Regions from separate parts of the Homo sapiens genome. Here all the other regions are linked to region 1. The links are contacts of gene promoters, found by promoter capture Hi-C in human tissues and cell types (Jung and others, 2019). All regions are on one chromosome and are shown on one strand. Each heading gives the region's core, a stretch centred on a gene start or on the middle of the fragment in contact. The rest is flanking DNA. Distances are from core to core; before and after follow the strand shown. Region 1 holds the start of INTS1 (integrator complex subunit 1). Region 2 has its middle 8.8 kb from the start of SNX8. Region 3 holds the start of COX19 (cytochrome c oxidase assembly factor COX19). Region 4 overlaps MAD1L1 (mitotic arrest deficient 1 like 1). Region 5 overlaps MAD1L1 (mitotic arrest deficient 1 like 1). Region 6 overlaps SNX8 (sorting nexin 8).

Region 1 (2,955 bases), core at 33-2,532:
GGCTTCAGCAGGGTGGACGCCGTTTTCGATTCATTGGCCTGACCCTTTGAGCCCAGAGCAATGAAGTCTCCTGGGGGAGGGTGCCCTGCAGAGAAAGGAGAGAGAAAACCGGGCACATTTGCAACACCCAAGATGGAAAAAGACTGACTCTAACCTCCTGTTATGTCAGAGGGGATTAAACAAGGGTCAGAGGAGGCAAGGAAGAAGCCAGAGCTCACTCAGCAGCCTACAGCAGAGCTGGGACCAGCAGGATACGCACAGGTGATGGTGGACAGTCACGTAGCGCTAACCACAAACCAGGCCATCTCTGGTCTATCCAAATTAGTGTGCTTAGTAACCCCCGCCCCGAGTTTCCGCAATAGGTGCTATTACTCTAACTTTACAAGAGAGAAAGGGACACAGAGAGGTTAAGCGACGTGCCCAGCGTCACACAGCAGGCGAGTGGCAAAGTCCGGAGGATCTGAGCCGACAGTTCAGCCGCAGACCCCGTGCTACGCTACACTGTGCTGCCTCCCGCCTCCTGGCTGGGGAGACCTTCCGCTACTGTCGGCCGCCTTGCAGCTCAGCCTGAAACGAGATCACCGGGGTCCCGAAGGAAGTCGCCACTGTCCCAAGCCTCCCAGGGACTCTCAGAGCCGCTGAGGACCGAGAGCAGTGTTTCCAGACCGAATTCCTGGAAACAGCCGCGGCTGCGGAACAACCAAGCCCAACGCAGGATCCGCGGCAGCTGAGATCCCCAAAGACCCCCAAAGACCCCCAAAGACCCCCGGGCTGCAGAGCGAGGAGGGAGACGCACCTGAGGGTTTGGCCGCGGCGCTGGGCCGGCGCACCGTGGTGGGCTTGGCCCGGTTCATCCTGCCCCGTCCCTCGCGGCTCCCGGCGGCTGCGGCGTCACCTGCGGAGGAGCCAGCGTGCGGTCATTCCTTCACTCATTCGCTCGTTCGCTCGCTCATTCGCTCCCTTGCCGCACGGGGCTTGGGCCTGGGACCCGGGGACAGTGGTCCCGCGCCCGCCCGGCGGGGCGATGCTGCAGGAGCTGCAGGGACCCCGCCTCCCAGCCGCCCGGGAGCGGCTCAGTCGGGCGGCAGCAGGCGACGCGGACGCCGGGCTGGAGGCGGCAGAACCAGAAGGGACGGCCCAGAGGCCGGGAGCGGTAGCCGGGAGAACCAGGCGCTCGCCCGGCAATGAGGAAGCGCCCAGGCCGCGGCTCACTTACCTCTGGCCCATCGCGACCGGAGCGCCGCCGCCGCCACCCGGCCACCCCGGAATCGGAAACCGATCTCACCGCCCTCGAGGACCCGACTTCCGGAACAACCGGAAGGAAAACAGTGCGGCGGGAAGCGGGCCCAGAAGGAGGCGCGAGAGGCCCGCGGCGCCGGCCTGATGCCTGCAGCGCCCCATGGCGGCGGGAGGCGGGCTGGCCGGCGCCGCGCGCATGTGGTCCGGTCCAGGTGGGTCGGCGGCGCGGGGCAGGCGCTGGCCTCTCCATTCACAGGTGGTGCTGGCGTTGCGAAGGGACGCACTCCAGGACGCACGGCGGGGAGGAGTGGCGTCAGGGATCCGCGGATGAGTCAAGTGGCAGGTTCTGCACGTCCCGGAGAGCGGGGGCGGCCGGGGCGCAGGCACTGGCGAGGGGGCGCAGCCCGGGGGGCTCCCGGGGAGAGACCCTGTCTCAAATAATAATAATAATAATAATAATAGCTTTATTGAGATAGAACTCGTGTTCCACAAAGTTCACCCTTTTCTTTTTTCTTTTTTTTTTTGGCACGGAGTCTCGCTCTGTCGCCCAGGCTGGAATGCAGTGGCGCGACCTCGGCTTATTGCAACCTCCACCTCCCAGGTTCAAGCGATTCTCCTGCCTCAGTCTCCCGAGTAGCTGGGATTACAGGCGCCCGCCACCATGTCTGGCTAATTTTTTTGTGTTTTTAGTAGAGACGGGGTTTCACCATGTTGGCCAGGCTGGTCTCGAACTCCTGACCTCAGGTGGTCCGCCCGCCTTGGCCTCCCAAAGTGCTGGAATTACTGCGCCCGCCCCGCCCCCACGCCTTTTTTTTTTTTTTTTTAATGGAAACACTGATGGGAACAAAACTCAAAAGACACAAAAGATCATACAGTTGCCAGGTGTGATGCTCATGCCTGTAATCTCAGCACTTTGGGAGACCAAGGCAGGAGGATCGGTTGAGTTCGAGACCAGCCTGAGCAACATAGCAAGACCCCCATCTCTACAAAAAAATAAAAATTAGCTGGGCATGGTGGCATGAACCTCTAATCCCAGCCCTTTGGGAGGCCAAAGTGGGAGTCTGAGACCAGCCTGGGCAACATAGTGAGACCCTATCTCTACAAACAAAAATCAAGAATAAATTAGCCAGGCATGGTGGTGCATGCCTACGGTCCCAGCTACTGAGGAGGCTGAGGTAGGAGGATCTCTTCAGCTTGGGAGGTCAAGGCTGCAGTAAGCTATGATGGTGCCACTACGCTGCAGCCGGCCGACAGAGCGAGACCCTGTCTAAAAAAAAATAAAAATAAAAGGTGGGGGAATCATCCAGTCAAAGGGTCGAAGGTCTCCCCTGACCCCTGAGCAGCTGGTCCCCTCCCCTGGAGTCAGCCTGTGTTCTGATTTGTGCCTGTGTTCCCGGCTTTTCCGTGTGCGTTCAGGCAGCCACCCGTGTGCCTCCCTCTGCCTTGTCACCCTGCAGGTAGCGCACGGCTCCTCTTTTCTGCACCTGGCTTTTGCCACTTAACCACATCTTGGAGATCTGTTCCCAGCAGGGCACTGACTCGAACGCTGCCCCGCCACCGAGGGAGTCCTGAGCACCGCCTGCCCGGTGTGTCCCATCTCCTCATCCAGGGACCGCAAGGCAGAGCTGGTCTCCCTGTGCCCCTGAAGTTGGGTGTGGCCATTTGACTGTGGCCTCAGTGAGGCTCATGGCCCCAGGCTGCAGCCTGAGAACTGCT
Region 2 (3,260 bases), core at 550-3,049, 820 kb after region 1:
ACAGGCGCCCGCCACTACGCCTGGCTAATTTTTTGTGTTTTTAGCAGAGACAAGGTTTCACTGTGGTCTCGATCTCCTTACCTTGTGATCCGCCCTCCTCGGCCTCCCAAAGTGCTGGGATTACAGCTGTGAGCCACCGCGCCCGGCCTTTTTTTTTTTTTTTTTTTTGAGACAGAGTCTCACGCTTGTCACCCAGGCTGGAGTGCAATGTTGCGATCTCGGATCTCGGCTCACTGCAACCTCTGCCTCCCAGGTTCAATCAATTCTCCTGCCTCAGCCTCCCGAGTAGCTGGGATTACAGGCGCCCGCCACCATGTCCAGCTAATTTTCGTATTTTTAGTAGAGACAAGCTTTCACCATATTGGCCAAACTGGTCTCGAACTCCTGGCCTCAGGTGATCTGCCGCCTAAGCCTCCCAAAGTGCTGGGATTATAGGCGTGAGCCACTGCGCCCGGCCTCGAATTTCTCAATTCTAAAACATTTTGCTTAGTAGCAAGAACCCAGTTATATCACGATGGTTAATCTGTTTTTTTGATTCACATGTAGTGCTTTTCATTTAGGAAAATGGGAACTAGCTGGGCAAATGGACAGAACTTAGCATGCAGAGCATCGGAGTCAGAATTTAACTACACAGGAGGACGTGCAGAAAGGACCTGCTAAGGACCTTTCAGAAACAGTTACTAAAATGCTGGTGTGGTGGCTCACGCCTATAATTGCAGTGCTTTGGGAGGCCAAGGCAGGAGAAGTGCTTCAGTCCAGGAGGTGGAAGCTACAGTGAGCTATGATTGTGCCACCGTATTCCAGCCTGGGCCACAGAGCAAGACCCCATCACTTAAAAATAAATGCTGGCTGGGCGCCGTGGCTCACACCTGTAATCCCAGCACTTTGGGAGGCCAAGGCGGGTGGATCACCTGAGGTCAGGGGTTCGAGATCAGCCTGGCTAACATGATGAAACCCCATCTCTACTAAAAATACAAAATTAACTTGGTGTGGTGGCGCACGCCTGTAATCCCAGCTACTCGGGAGGCTGAGGCAGGAGAATCGCTTGAACCCAGGAGGTGGATGTTGCAGTGAGCCATAATCGCGCCACTGCACTCCAGCCTGGGTGACAGATTGAGACTCCATCTCAAAAGTAAAATAAAATAGAATAAAATAAAATAAATGCTGTAGGCCAGGTGCTATGGGTCACGCCTGTAATCCCAGCACTTTGGGAGGCTGAAGTATGTGGATCACCTGTGGCCAGGAGTTCAAGACCAGCCTGGGCAACATGGTGAAACCCTGTCTCTACTAAAAATAAAAAAAAAATCCGGGCGTGGTGGTGGGCACCTGTTATCCCAGCTACTCGGGAAGCTGAAGCAAGAGAATTACTTGAACCTGGGAGGCAGAGGTTGCAGTAAGCCGAGATCTTGCTGCTGCACTCCAGCCTGGGCAACAGAACAAGACTCTGTCTCTAAATAAATAAATAAATAAATAAATGGTGTGGGCCAGGCATGGTGGCTTACACCTGTAATCCCAGCACTTTGGGAGGCCAAGGCCAGTGGATCATCTGAGGTCAGGAGTTCTAGACCAGCCCGGCCAATACGGTGAAACCCCATTCCTACTAAAAATACAAAAATTAGCTGGACATGATGGCAGGTGCCTGTAATCCCATCTGCTCGGGAAGCTGAGGCATGAAAATCGCTTGAACTTTGGGGGTGGAGGTTGCAGTGAGCTGAGATTGTGCCACTGCCCTCCAGCCAGGGCGACAGAGTGAGAGTCTGTCTCAAAAAAAAAAAAAAAAAAAACAACCAAACAAACAAAAAAACTAATAATGGGTAATGCATTGTTTAGCGTATCTTAGAAATACTAATAATGGCTAATGAGTTGTTTAGGATAGGCTATATCATGCTGCAGTAACAATCTCAAATCCCAGAGGCTTAAAGTCACAAAGGGGTTCATGTCTGTCACCGGCATGCAGAGACCCAGGATCACAGAGCGGCCACCATCCTGCATTTCTGCCATGTTAACAGAGAGAAAGGATCTGGAGGATGCTGCAGGAGCCGCTAAATGATATGGCCCAGAAGTAAGACTCATTGCTGTTCACAACGCATTGGCCAGGACCAGTGATGTGGTCTCGCTCAACCTCAGAAGGACCAGAAGTGCAGTACTACCACGTGCCTGGCACGCCAGAAGCCAGGACAGCACCAAACACTAACCACGCTAACACGTATTGAATGCGTACTAGGAACTGAGTCTTCTTGGTTTTTTGTTTTTGTTTTGAGACCGACTCTTGCTCTGTTGCCCAGGCTTGAGTGCAGTGGCACCATCTCGGCTCACTGCAACCTCAGGTGGATCACCTGAGATCAAGAGTTCGAGACCAGCCTAGCCAACATGGTAAAACCCCGTCTCTACTAAAAATACAAAAATAAGCTGGGCATGGTGGTGCATGCTTCTAGTCCCAGCTACTTGGGAGGCTGAGGCAGGATAATCGCTTGAACCTGGGAGGCAGAGGTTGCAGTGAGCTGAGATCACGCCACTGTACTCCAGCCTGGGGTGGCAAGGGCAAGACTCCATCTCAAAAAAAAAAGAATTTATAAAAAAAGAATGTATCTCATCCTGGCCGGGGGCAGTGGCTCACGTCTGTAATCATAGCACTTTGAGAGGCCAAGGCAGGAGGGTTACTTGAGCCCAGGAATTCAAAACCAGCCTGGGCAACGTAGTGACACCCCATCTCTATTTTCTTTCTTTCTTTTTTTTTTTTTTTGAGACAGAGTTTCACTGTGTCGTCCAGGCTAGAGTGCAGTGGTGTGATCTTGGCTCACTACAACCTCCACCTCCCAGGTTCAAACAATTCTCCTGCCTCAGCCTCCCAAGTAGCTGGGATTACAGGCATGCGCCACCACGCCTGGCTAATTTTTTGTATTTTAGTAGAGACAGGGTTTCACCATGTTGCCCAGGGTGGTCTCGAACTCCTGAGCTCAGGCAATCTGCCCACCTCAGCCTCCTAAAGTGCTAGGATTACAAGAGTGAGCCACTGTGACTGACCTATTTTTCAAAAAAATAAAAATAAAAATAAACTAAGAATAAAAAAAATTTAGGAAGTGGTATGATCAGTACTTTGCAGGCAACCAAGACCAGAAAAGTTCAACACCCTAAGATCCCAGAGCTGAGATCCTAGCCTAGGCTGCAAGACACCATTCTCACAACCCTTGTGGGCATTTGCCCTGTGTTATAAAGCTACCAATTTCTTCTCAACACTCTTCCTTTTTTTAATTTTTTGA
Region 3 (2,984 bases), core at 78-2,577, 530 kb before region 1:
CCTGGGCAACATGGGGAAACCCCATCTCTAAAAAAAAAAAAAAAAAAAAAATTAGCTGGGTGTGGCGCTGCACACCTATAGTCCCAGCTACTCTAGAGGATGAGACGGGAGACTCCCCTGAGTCCAGAAAGGAAGGAGGCCGAGGCTTCAGTGAGCTATGATTGCACCACTGCACTCCAGCCTAAGCAACAGAGTGAGACCGTGTCTCAAAACAAAAACAATCAAACCCAAACTTGTTTCCTTCATAAACATGCTGAAAACAACAATGGAAAAAACCCACAACGAGGTAAAGTCAGCCCAGTACGAGGTTAAGGTGCAATGTAGGTGATGGTCACAGGAGAGTTCAGGGTAAAAATTCTTTCATTTTTGCTATTTGAAAATGTCACAATAAAATGTTGGGAAAGAAACAGTAATTCACAGATCGTTTTTCTTTTCTTTTCTTTCTTTTTTTTTTTGAGACGTTGTCTCACTCTGTCGCCCAAGCTGCAGTGCAGTGGCCCGATCTCGGCTCACTGCAACCTCCGTCTCCCGGTTCAAGCGATTCTCCTGCCTCAGCCTCCCGAGTAGCTGGGACTACAGGCGAGCCACATCACACCCAACTAATTTTTGTATTTTTAGTAGAGACGGGGTTTCCCCATGTTGGGCAGGCTGGTCTCGAACTCCTGATCTTAAATGATCCGCCCACCTCGGCCTCCCAAAGGGCTGGGATCACAGGCATGAGCCACCGCGCCCGGCCCACAGATCCTTTTTCGAAGCCTTCATGTCCACGGAGGCAACCCCACCGGAATACGGCCAGAAGCACTGGGAGATCAGCAGCACTTTTGAGCTTTGCAGCAGACATCGCTAGGCACCGTCTAAGCCTCGGCTGCAGCTGCGGGCTTCGTGGCCGCCGAATGCCCCGCTCTGCAAACCCGGGGCACAGACAGCCCGCCGGGTGAGTCAGGGCGGAGCCGGAGACCCGGAAGCCTGACGCAAGGAGTCGGTGTCGCTGCCCTCGTCACGGGGGCCACGGTCCTGCCAGCTCCCACCTGCAGGGTCCATGCCGCAGCAGTGACCCAGGGCTGGGTGGGGCGGAGGGGCGGGCCGCCGTGCCTCAGTTTCCCCGCCTGCACCGCGCTAGATGCCGGCACCCCATAGGGCTCCGCGCTGGGCCGCGACCCAGACCCCCCATCGCAGACCCCTGCCCGCCGACCTTCCGCCGCTCACCTAAGTGATCCAGCGGGAAGCTGCCCTTGTCCGGGGGCCGCGGCTGGAAGCTCTTGGTCCCGAAATTCATGGCGGTCGACATGTTGGCGACTCCGGAGTCTGCGAGCGCCTTGCGAGCGTACGCAGGGCGGCCGGCGGAGCGCCGAGCAGGCACCCCGGGAGCGCCGAGCACGTCGAGCAGGCCCCGTCCCCGCCCCTTGCCCAGGCCCGGCCCCACCCCTTGCCCAGGCCCGGCCCCACCCCCTCGGAGTCAGCAAGCTCCTGAGCCCCGGTGGGCGCTGCCCGGGCTTTCCCGTCCCCTGGGACCCTCACAGCAGTCGGTAGCAGAATCAGCTTTTGGAATTGGTGAGAAACCGAGGCCCAGAAAGGTTCAGCGAATTGCCCGAGGACACATAGCGGTGCCGGCGTCTCTGCATCCCAGGTGTCTGCTGGGGCCTCGGTTTCCCCATCGCACAGAGACCTCATCACGGGGCCCATCCGGGGAGGAAGGCGGCACAGGAGGGACAGGAGAGCCTGTGGACTCGCTGCCTGCGGCTGCTGGAGCCAGGTGACACCACCGAGCAGCTTCAACAACAGGAATGTGCTCTCAGTCCTGGGGTCTGGAGTCCAAGCAGTGGGCAGAGTGGGGGCCCTGGGGACAGTCCCAGCCTCCCAGCTTCTGGGGGCCGCCAGCCTGTGAGGTTCCTTGGCTTGCAGAAGCACCACCTGGTCTCGGCCCCTACGTTCCCATGGTGTCCTGCGCATGTCCAAATTTACTATTTTTATTTATTTATTTGAGACAGGGTATTGCTCTGTTGCCCAGACTAGAGTGCAGTGGCATGATCACGACTCACTGCAGCCTCGACCTCCTGGGCTCAGCGATCCTCTCACCCCAGCCTCCTGAGTAGCTGCGACCACAGGCACACACCACCACACCAGGCTAATTTTTCTATTTTTCGTAGAGATGGAGTCTCCCTATGTTGCCCAGGCTGGTCCTTAACTCCTGGGCTCAGGCAATCCTCCTGCCTCAGCCTCCCTAAATGCCGGGATTATAGGCATGAGCCACCATGCCCAACCTAAATTTCCTCTTTTTATAAGGATAGCAGTCATGTTGGGTTAGGGGCCGTCCCAATAACTTCATCTTAACTAATTATATCAGCAGCAACCCTATTTCTTTGTTTTGTTTTTTAAAACGGAGTCTCTCTCTTGTTGCCCAGGCTGGAGTACAGTGGCTCGATCCTGGCTCATTGCAACCTCCACCTCCCAGGTTAAAGCAATTCTCCTGCCTCAGCCTCCCGAGTAGCTGGGATTACAGGCGCCACCAACACACCCAGCTAAGCTAATATATTTTTTTTCAACACAGAGTCTCACTTTGTAACCTAGACGGGCGTGCAGTGGTACGATCTCGGCTCACCGCAACCTCCACTTCCCGAGTTCAAGAGATTCTCCTGCCTCAGCCTCCAGAGTAGCTGGGATTACAGGCATGCGCCACCACACCCGGCTAATTTTTTGTACTTTTCGTAGAGACGGGGTTTCACCATGTTGCCCAGGCTGGTCTCGAACTCCTGACCTTAAGTGATCCGCCCACTTCAGCCTCCCAAAGGGCTGGGATGACAGGCGTGAGCCGCCGCACCTGGCACCTATTTCCAAAGCAAAGGTCACATCCTAAGGTCCTAGTGGCTTCACCATACGAATGGGGGTGGAGGGTAGTTACAGCTCAACCTAGGGCAGAATGAAAGTGTACTGTAAGCGGTAAGGCCCGGCCTTTGCGTGTCGATGTTGTCATGGCAACAGCAGTC
Region 4 (2,848 bases), core at 126-2,625, 650 kb after region 1:
GCTGGCCACATCCCTAGGCCCCCAGATCCCTGCCGGCTCTCAGTCCCCATGCGACCAGGCCCCCATCATAGGGAGGACTGAAGCTGCAGGGCTTGCTATTCCAGAGCCCTCCAACCACAGGGGCAGCCGTGCCCAACACCTCCCACGGGCAGAAGCCGCTGGAGGGCACAGGGGCACCAGAAGGAATCCCTCCCTTCGCAGCCTCTTGCGCTGAAAAACCCGCAGTCACCACTTTGGCTAAACCAAGCCTCACGAGCCCTGTCTGGCCATTCTTGCTCATGACCAGGGTTCAGCTTCCACTCAAAAGCACAAGCACAGTGAGCTCGATGACAGCCTTCAAGAACGTCACACGGGACCAGTCTACTCTACTTGCAGAGACAGAGGGAAGGCCAGGACATCCTTAAAGGAAAAGGAGATGGACCCATGGGAGAAAACCTGGGTCTCAGCCCCAGCCCTGACCCCTCCAGGCTCAACTCCCTACCTGCTCGGCTGGGCTTCCTAAGGCTCACTTCCAAAACCCTACGGCACAGGTACAGTGCACTGCTATTACCTGACAATCCCTATGCCGTTAACTTTATGGATGTGGAAGGGACAGGGAGGCTGGAGGCTGTTTTCAGGGTGTGCAATCCAAGCCCATTTTCACACTGGCATTGGGAGGCCGGGAGAGGACATGCACCGTGGAGGCGGTGTCTGGATGTCGCCGGGGACATGAGGAGAAAACACTTCAAGTACAATCATCAACCAGCATGTTAAAAGTTGTGAAATTTTGTATACCCTTTGTTCGGCAGTGTCAATCAAAAGAAAATGTGTTCCCCATATACAAAAATCAACTGGAGATGGATTACAGGCTGAAACCTAAGACCCAAAAATATAAAAAATACTAAAGAAAACAAGGAAAACACTTCAGGACATTGGTCTAGGCAAAGATTTTATAGCTAAGACCTCAAAAGCACAGGCAACAAAAACAAAAATAGACAAATGGGACTACATCAAAGTAAAAAGCTTCTGCCCATCCAAGAAAACAATCAACAGAGTGAAGAGACAGCCTCTTGAATGCAGGAAAATATCTGTCAACTCTTCGGCCAATAAGGGACTAACATCCAAAATACAACTCAAAAGAAACTCAAATAACAACAATTAAAAAAACATAAATAATCCCACGAAAAAGTAGGCAAAGGACACAAAGAGACATTTCTCAAAGGATGACATGCAAATGGCCAACAGGTATATGAAAAAATGGTCAACATCACTAATCATCGGGGGAATTGCAAATCAAAACCACAATGAGATACCACCTTACCTCAGCTTAAAATGGCTAATAAACAGACCAAAAAACACACAGACAGATGCTGGTGAGGATGCAGAGGAAAGGGAACTCTCAGCTGCTGTTGGAAGGAATGTAAATTAGTACCACCGCTATGGAACCCAGTATGGAGATTTCTCAAAAAGCTGAAAACAGAACACCACCACATGATCCAGCAATCCCACCACTGGGTATTTACTCAAAGGAAATCACTGTATCAAAAAGATACCTGCATTCCCATGTTTATCACAGCAAAGATGGCAAAGATACGGAATTAACCTGTGTCTATCGACAGACGAATGGATAAAGAAAATGGGGATGTACACACAGTGGAATGCTATCCGGCCGTAAGAAAGAACAAGAGCTGGGCCGAGCGCGGTGGCTCACGCCTGTAATCCCACCGCTTTGGGAGGCCGAGGCAGGTGGATCAGGAGGTCAGGAGTTCGAGACCAGCCCGGCCAACATGGTGAAACTCCATCTCTACTAAAAATACAAAAATTAGCCAGGCGTGGTGGCACACGCCTGTAATCCCAGCTACTCAGGAGGCTGAGGCAGGAGAATCACTTGAACCAGGGAGTCAGAGGTTGTAGTGAGCCAAGATGACGCCACTGCACTCCAGCCTGGCAACAGAGCAAGACTCCATCTCAAAAAAAAAGAAAGAATGAGAGCCTGTCATTTGTAACAACGTGGCTGGAATGGGAGGTGACCGTGTCAGGTGAAACCACCAGGAACAGAAAGAAACTGCACGTCTTCACTCATGGGAGCTGTGGAAATTCACCTCCTAAAGGCAGAGAGTAGAATGACAGGAACTAGTGGATTGAAAGGTCTGGGTGAGCGGAACCACAGATGAAGAGAGTTGAGTTAATGGGTACGAACATACAGTTAGATGAAAGGTATAAATTCAGTTGTTCCACAGAAGAGGAGGGTGACTAGAGTTAACAGTGTATTGTATAATTCAAAGTAGCTAGAAGAGAACCAGAATTTTTCCCAATACGTGGAAATGATAAATACTCAAAGTGATGGTTACCCCAAATACCCTAAACTTGCCCATTCCACATTCTGTGCACGTAAGAAAATATCACAGGTACTCCATAAATATGTAAAATATTATGTATAAAAATAAATAAATGGTAAATAAATAAATAAAAGAAAATGGGCTCTCTGGGGATGAAGTGTATGAGCTTTAGCTAGTGGAAACAGAATGGGTTTAAGGCAATGGTTTCAGAGCACTCCATATCAGAAAAAGAAAAGATGAAATGGTTTTGCCAACATGTGGACATTTCTGAGGCCACAAAGGAGGTCCCATCAAGAACAAGGTGGAATCCGATCAAACGGGTCAGGAGGTCACCTCCTGAACTCTACAGGAAGCATTCCGGCGCCCTCTTCTCGTATTAACAGCAGCCTGTGGAGAAGGACGGAGGCCACCATCTGGAGTAAAGGACATACCCTTGAACCAAGCGGGGTGGGGAGGAGGAGCCCAGGAGGCTCTGGGCACGCGGAGGAGTCCACAGGGGTGGACTGTGAGCTCTCAGAGAGGCTTGCACG
Region 5 (3,036 bases), core at 171-2,670, 530 kb after region 1:
GGGAGGACGATGCATTCCTGCGCCACCTCCGTGCGGGGAACCAGAGCTCCAGCCTGAATCCCTTAGGGTTGGCTCAGAGTCCTCTCTGGATGAAGTGTCTAGTCTGAGGAGGACAATCCATCCGGTCGTGAGTTTGGACTCTTCCTACACACAAAGGCCAATATATCAAAATTAAATCCCACGGAAGCCCAGGTTGTCACTGGAGAGCATTCCCCAAGCTCCAGGCAGTGGTAAATCAGAGGCCTGAATCCACTGTGGGCCCTCTTTTGAACAGAAGACAAAAGGAAGAGCTTACCCCTAAAGGCAACCCAGCAACCCAGACGTGTGCCTGTCCCACCTCCCCAAGGCCAGGGCTCCTGATCAGAGGTGCTGTAAAGACTCAACAGCCCTGGCAGTACAGGGAGCCCAAGCAGGTGTCGGAAATGACACTGGGTACCTAGAATCCTAAGAACTAAGCTGTCTACAGATGCAGACCAACCAGGTGGGAGGTGGTCAGCTAGATCCCACCAACGCCACTCATACCCACCAACGCGCACGAGGCACGCTCCGCCTCCTGAACACTCCTCCCAGGGCTCCTCCAGCACTCCTCCCACAGCTCCCCCCACAGCACGAGCTTCCGCGTGCCCACCCACGCGCAGAAGACCTCCACCTGCCGCATGCTCCTCCCACAGCTCCCCCCACAGCATGAGCTTCCACGCGCCCACGAAGGTGTCCAGCCATGCAGCAAACGTGGATCAGGCCCAGGTACACATCAGATCTCACCGGTTCCAGTGCCTTCTGCCACGTGGAAATTTCGGCTCCTTCTTTGTCTTCTTAATAGACTCTTCTTTTTTTTTTTTTTTTTTAGAACGGGTTTAGATTTAGAAGAATGGAGAAGATGGTAGAGACTTTTCACATATTCCACACCCAGGTGCCCCACTGTTAACATCTTACACGAGCACAGTGTGCTGGCCACAATAAGGAGCCAGCATGGACCCAGGCACGCCTTGCTCTCCTGGACTACACAGATACTGTGCTTCTTACAAATGGAAGGCTTGTGGCCGTCCTGCCTTCGGCGAGGCACCATGTTCCCAACAGCATGTGCTCCCTACACGGCTCTGTCACATCTGGTAATCCTCATGGCGTTTCAGACATTGTATCACTATTATATCTGTTGTGGTCTGTAATGGGTGGTCTCTGATCTTACTACTGTCATTGATTCTGGGGCGCCACGTCCTGACTGTACTTCCGACATTGCATCACTGTTATGTCTGTTGTGGTCTGTGATCGGCGGTCTCCGATCTTACTGCTGTCATTGATTCTGGGACGCCACACACTATGCTCCTCAGACGGCAAAAGCTTCACCGACCAACGCTGCTTGTGTCTGGCTGCTTCACTGACCAGCCATCTCCCTCCCTCCCTCTCCTTGGGCCTCTCTATTCCCTGGGCGACACAACAGTATTAAAATCAGGCCAATTAATAACCCTACAACAGCCTCTAAGCATTCAAGAGAAAGGAAGAGTCGCATGTCTCTCCTTTAAACCAAAAGCTAGAAAGGATTAAGCTTAGTGAGGAAGGCGTGCCAAAAGCAAAGATAAGCCGAAAGCCAGGCCTCTCGTGCCAAACAGCTCGCCAAGTTGTGAATGCAAAGGGAAAGTTCTTGGAGGAAATTAAAAGTGCTGCTCCACTGAACACACCAACGATAAGAAAGTGAAACTGTCTTATTGCTGATACGGAGAAGTCTGAGTGGTCTGGATAGATCAAACCAGCCCCAACATTCCCTTAAGTCAGAGCAAGTTCCACGAGGCTGAGAGAGGTGGGAAAGCTGCAGAATTCAAGTCTGAAGCTAGCAGAGGTGGGTTCATGAGGTTTACATTAAGAGGCAGTCCCCATCACATAAAAGTACAAGGTGAAGCCGCAAGTGCTGACGGAGAAGCTGCAGCAAGTTCTCCAGAAGATCCAGCTAAGAGCACCAATGAAGGTGGCCACACTAAACACCAGATTTGCAGTGCACATAAAACAGCCTTCTGCTGGAAGATGCCGTCTAGGGCTTTTACAGTTACAGAGGAGAAGTCGATCCCTGCCTTCAAAGTTTCAGAGGACAAGCTGATGCTGTTAGGAGATAATGAAGCTGATGACTTTTTTTTTTTTTTTTTTTTTTTTTTTTGAGACACAGTCTCACTCATTCTGTCACCCAGGCTGGAGCACGGTGGCACAATCTTGGCTCACTGCAACCTCCGCCTTCTGGGTTCAAGCAATTCTCCTGCCTCAGCCTCCCAAGTAGCCGGGATTACAAGTGTGTGCCACCACGCCTCACTAATTTTTTGTATTTTTAGTAGAGACAGGGTTTCACCATGCTGGCCAGGATGGTCTCGAACTCCTGCTGACCTCAAGTGATCCGCCCACCTCGACCTCTCAAAGTGCTGGGATTCCATGCATCAGCTACTGTGCCTGATCTAAGCTTTTTATTTTGATCCAATTACAGATTCACTTGGAGCTATAAAAAATAATACAGAGATCACAAGTAGCATTCATCCAGTTCCTCCCAATAGCAACATCTGGCACAACTACAGCACAGTATCACAACCCGTATGCCGACAATGATACAGTCAAGATACAGCACATTTCATCACCACAAAAACCCCTCGGGTTGTCCGTTCACAGCCACGATTCCTCCTGTGCGTCTCCGTAACTCACGGCAGCCATCCACAGGCTGTCTATCACTTCAGCCTTTTAATAACGTCATGCAAATGGGATCATGCAGCACACGACCTTCAGGGACTGGGCTCTTCGCTCCGCTAAACTCCCTGGAGATCTATTCAAGTATGTTTATCCACAGTGAATTCCTTCTTAGTCCTGAGTATTACTCTGTGTGACGGAGGCACTACCGTTGTTTAACCATCACCACCGAAGGACATCAGAATTCTTTCCAGTTTTTGGCCATTATGCAAAAGCTGCTAGGAAGAGTCCTCTGTCGGGTTTTGTCCGAACCTCGGTTTTATTTCACTGGAATCGACACCCAGGAATGCGACTGCTGGTCATATGGGAGCTGCAGTG
Region 6 (2,961 bases), core at 102-2,601, 800 kb after region 1:
GTTAAAAAGGAATACTATTTTAGCAAATTGGGGGAATCTTGGAATAACCTACCAAGTAGGAGTTTGGAGTTCCAAAAAGAGTCCTCGTCTCTGTTTAACTAAATGCCACCCATGCCTGGTTTCTTGCGTTTTCTTTTTTAACCCTCCTCCTGGCTGGTGGTTGGTTTGGTCTGAAAGTGACTCCGGTTTTTTTCTAGGGTCTCCTGACATGAAAGTGAAAAGATTCCAAAATATCTGACGGGGCTAAGTCTGTCTTGATCCTCATAGAGGCCAAATGGAGAAGAACCTTCATTGGCCACCAAATAAGGTCCCTCCAAGAAAATTCCAAGCAGTCAGCCAGCATAATGGGCCAAGTGAGATACAATTAAATCCATTTCAGCAAACCTTGATTGATCTATGGCAAGCACAGCAAGGAAGAAGGCGCACTTCCTTCTCCTGGCTGCCTTAAGGGTAGACAACAAGGAACGCAATTAATCAACCAGAAAATGTAACGCCTCAGAAGTCAGCAAGAACAAATTAGGAACTGTGAAAAATGTCACAGGAAGAGAAATATTTAGTCAGTTTTTCCCCCACGGCTAAATTTGCACTGAACACGAAGACCTAGTTTTCCATGCACAGAAGGCTGGACTCTCATCTGGTGTCTTACAGACCCCAAAACTCCAAGATTGGTTAACCAGGATGCTCAGATTATCTTAACGCGTTTAAGGGAACTCAGCCTGTGCCTCACAAAATTCAAGAAGTGATTTGTTTTTTCAGAGCTGACAATTCAAGGAGATTTTATGTTGAACTCAACTGGAAACAGACTGTCTACACCCAGTTGTCCAGAATGAACTAAATATTTTCAGTAGACACGTTGCAAAGCTTTCTCTCTTTTTTTTGGAGACAGAGTCTTGATCTGTTGTCACCTAGGCTGGAGTGCAGTGGCACGATCTTAGCTCACTGTAGCCTCAGTCTCTTGGGCTCAAGCGATCCTCCTGCCTCAGCCTCCCAAGTAACCGGAACTACAGACACGTACCACCATGCCTGGCTAATTTTTTCATTTTTTTGTAGAGAAAAGGTCTCGCTATGTAATGCCCAGGCTGGTCTTTTTTTCTTTTTTTTTTAAATTATTGAGACAGAGTTTCATTCTTGTCACCCAGGCTGGAGTGCAGTGGTGCAATCTTGGCTCCCTGCAACCTCCACCTCCTGGGTTCAAATGATTCTCCTGCCTCAGCCTCCCGAGTAGCTAGGATTATAGGCGCATGCCACCACGCCCAGCTAATTTTTGTATTTTTAGTAGAGACGGGGTTTCACCATGTTGGCCAGGCTGTTCTCGAACTCCTGACCTCAAATGATCTGTCTACCTTGGCCTCCCAAAGTGCTGGGATTACAGGCGTGAGTCACTGTGCCCAGCCCCTGTTGTGGAGCTTAAACCCAACCTCGAACGAGACAAGTAACCATTCTCCCACAAAATGACTTCAACACTCACAACAGGCATTCTGAATTTACATGCTCTTTCATTACGTCCTGTTTCCTAACTTTAAAGTGCATTCCTGTTCTGAAAAGATAAAAAGGACCTAGCACAATTGTCTAGGGTGTTATTTATGAGAAAGGTCTGTGCAACTATCTCCCTCTAAGGAAAACCATCTGAAGAGGGAAAGCTCCATGCCTACGAATGGCTGCTTAACGTGGCCAGACGCAAATCCAACAGAGACCCTCACAGGCCAGGCCACACTGCTCATGTCCCAGCTGCAGCCCCACACCTGGTGTGAATCCCAGCACCACCACCTATTGGCCGTGTGCTCATGGGCATATGAATACAAGGCAGGCCAGCCCCCAAATTCGGGCTTAGCCCAGAGGCTTCTAGGCTTTGTCTAGGAAGGAATTCAAGGCTGAGCCGATGGTGTTAGCAACTTTTATTGAAGCAGCAGCACGCACAGCAGCAACAGAGGTCCTGCTCCTTGCAGAGCAGAACCACCCCCTTACCAGGGCACCCAGAGCAGCAACTTAGAGGCAGTGTTGCACTCATATTTATACCTACTTTTAATTATATGCAAACTAAGGGGTGATTTATGCAGAAATTTCTAGAATGGGGGTAGTAAATTCCGGGTTGTCCAGTCATTGTCATGGAAAAGGGCATCCACGTGTTGCCATGGTGATGGTAAACTGACATGGCCCACTGGCAGGCGTGTCTTATGGGAAGGTGATTCTGCCCTGGACCTATTTCAGCTAGTCCTCAATTTCGACTGCTATCCAGGCCCTGCCTCCAGCGTCGAGTTCTGTCTCCTAACTCATTACCAAACCTCTGTATGCCTCAGTTTCCTCATCTCTGAAGTGAGGCTAGGACTACCTACTTCTCAGCTTGTTAGTTCACACACAGACCCTAAGGAGAATGCAGAGCACATTGTCCAGGCTCTCAAAGAGTTGGGGATCGGCCAGGCGCGGTGGCTCACACCTGTAATCCCAGCACTTTGGGAGGCCGAGGCAGGCAGATCACCAGGTCAAGAGATCGAGACCATCCTGGCTAACACGGTGAAACTTCATCTCTATTAAAAAAAAATACCCTCTCCCCTCTCCCGACGGTCTCCCTCTCCCTCTCTTTCCACGGTCTCCCTCTGATGCCGAGCCGAAGCTGGACTGTACTGCTGCCATCTCGGCTCACTGCAACCTCCCTGCCTGATTCTCCTGCCTCAGCCTGCCGAGTGCCTGCGATTGCAGGCTCGCGCCGCCACGCCTGACTGGTTTTCGTATTTTTTTGGTGGAGACGGGGTTTCGCTGTGTTGGCCAGGCCGGTCTCAGCTCCTAACCGTGAGTGATCCACCAGCCTCGGCCTCCCGAGGTGCCGGGATTGCAGACGGAGTCTAGTTCACTCAGTGCTCAATGGTGCCCAGGCTGGAGTGCAGTGGTGTGATCTCGGCTGGCTACAACCTCCACCTCCCAGCCGCCTGCCTTGGCCTCCCAAAGTGCCGAGATTGCAGCCTC

Evidence for each region. The method cuts DNA at HindIII sites, captures the fragments that hold promoters and counts their contacts. A contact is called where the count stands out against the background at its distance.
Region 2: a fragment that was not itself captured here is called in contact with the fragment with the promoter of INTS1 in region 1 in 2 of the 25 tissues and cell types used here (lymphoblastoid cells and spleen).
Region 3: a contact is called between the fragment with the promoter of COX19 here and the fragment with the promoter of INTS1 in region 1, in 4 of the 25 tissues and cell types used here (H1 embryonic stem cells, hippocampus, lymphoblastoid cells and 1 more).
Region 4: a fragment that was not itself captured here is called in contact with the fragment with the promoter of INTS1 in region 1 in 1 of the 25 tissues and cell types used here (dorsolateral prefrontal cortex).
Region 5: a contact is called between a fragment that was not itself captured here and the fragment with the promoter of INTS1 in region 1, in 4 of the 25 tissues and cell types used here (H1 embryonic stem cells, heart left ventricle, lymphoblastoid cells and 1 more).
Region 6: a fragment that was not itself captured here is called in contact with the fragment with the promoter of INTS1 in region 1 in 2 of the 25 tissues and cell types used here (dorsolateral prefrontal cortex and spleen).

What each region holds. Positions count from the first base shown.
Region 1 is chr7:1,503,107-1,506,061 of GRCh38, forward strand. INTS1 (integrator complex subunit 1) reads right to left here and starts at 1,283. Exons shown (of 48, transcript NM_001080453.3): 1 at 1,217-1,283; 2 at 797-895; 3 at 1-85. The coding sequence starts at 854. RefSeq lists a silencer at 929-1,488 and enhancers at 2,375-2,955, 2,597-2,786. The HindIII fragment of the contact is 17,901 bases long and covers 1-2,955 here.
Region 2 is chr7:2,321,566-2,324,825 of GRCh38, forward strand. It overlaps a transcript of SNX8 not described here. Among named protein-coding and RNA genes, the nearest start is that of SNX8, 8.8 kb to the left of the region's middle. The HindIII fragment of the contact is 5,349 bases long and covers 1-3,260 here.
Region 3 is chr7:974,222-977,205 of GRCh38, forward strand. COX19 (cytochrome c oxidase assembly factor COX19) reads right to left here and starts at 1,328. Exons shown (of 3, transcript NM_001031617.3): 1 at 1,207-1,328. The coding sequence starts at 1,288. RefSeq lists enhancers at 551-1,433, 733-802, 1,434-2,314 and silencers at 1,043-1,202, 1,223-1,502. The HindIII fragment of the contact is 7,753 bases long and covers 1-2,984 here.
Region 4 is chr7:2,152,206-2,155,053 of GRCh38, forward strand. The region is part of intron 10 of MAD1L1 (mitotic arrest deficient 1 like 1); the gene reads right to left. Among named protein-coding and RNA genes, the nearest start is that of SNORA114, 65 kb to the left of the region's middle. The HindIII fragment of the contact is 4,469 bases long and covers 1-2,848 here.
Region 5 is chr7:2,036,381-2,039,416 of GRCh38, forward strand. The region is part of intron 12 of MAD1L1 (mitotic arrest deficient 1 like 1); the gene reads right to left. Among named protein-coding and RNA genes, the nearest start is that of SNORA114, 51 kb to the right of the region's middle. The HindIII fragment of the contact is 3,001 bases long and covers 1-2,921 here.
Region 6 is chr7:2,299,549-2,302,509 of GRCh38, forward strand. All of the region lies in intron 1 of SNX8 (sorting nexin 8), which reads right to left. Among named protein-coding and RNA genes, the nearest start is that of SNX8, 13 kb to the right of the region's middle. RefSeq lists enhancers at 1,646-1,695, 1,696-2,196, 2,699-2,961. The HindIII fragment of the contact is 3,285 bases long and covers 1-2,961 here.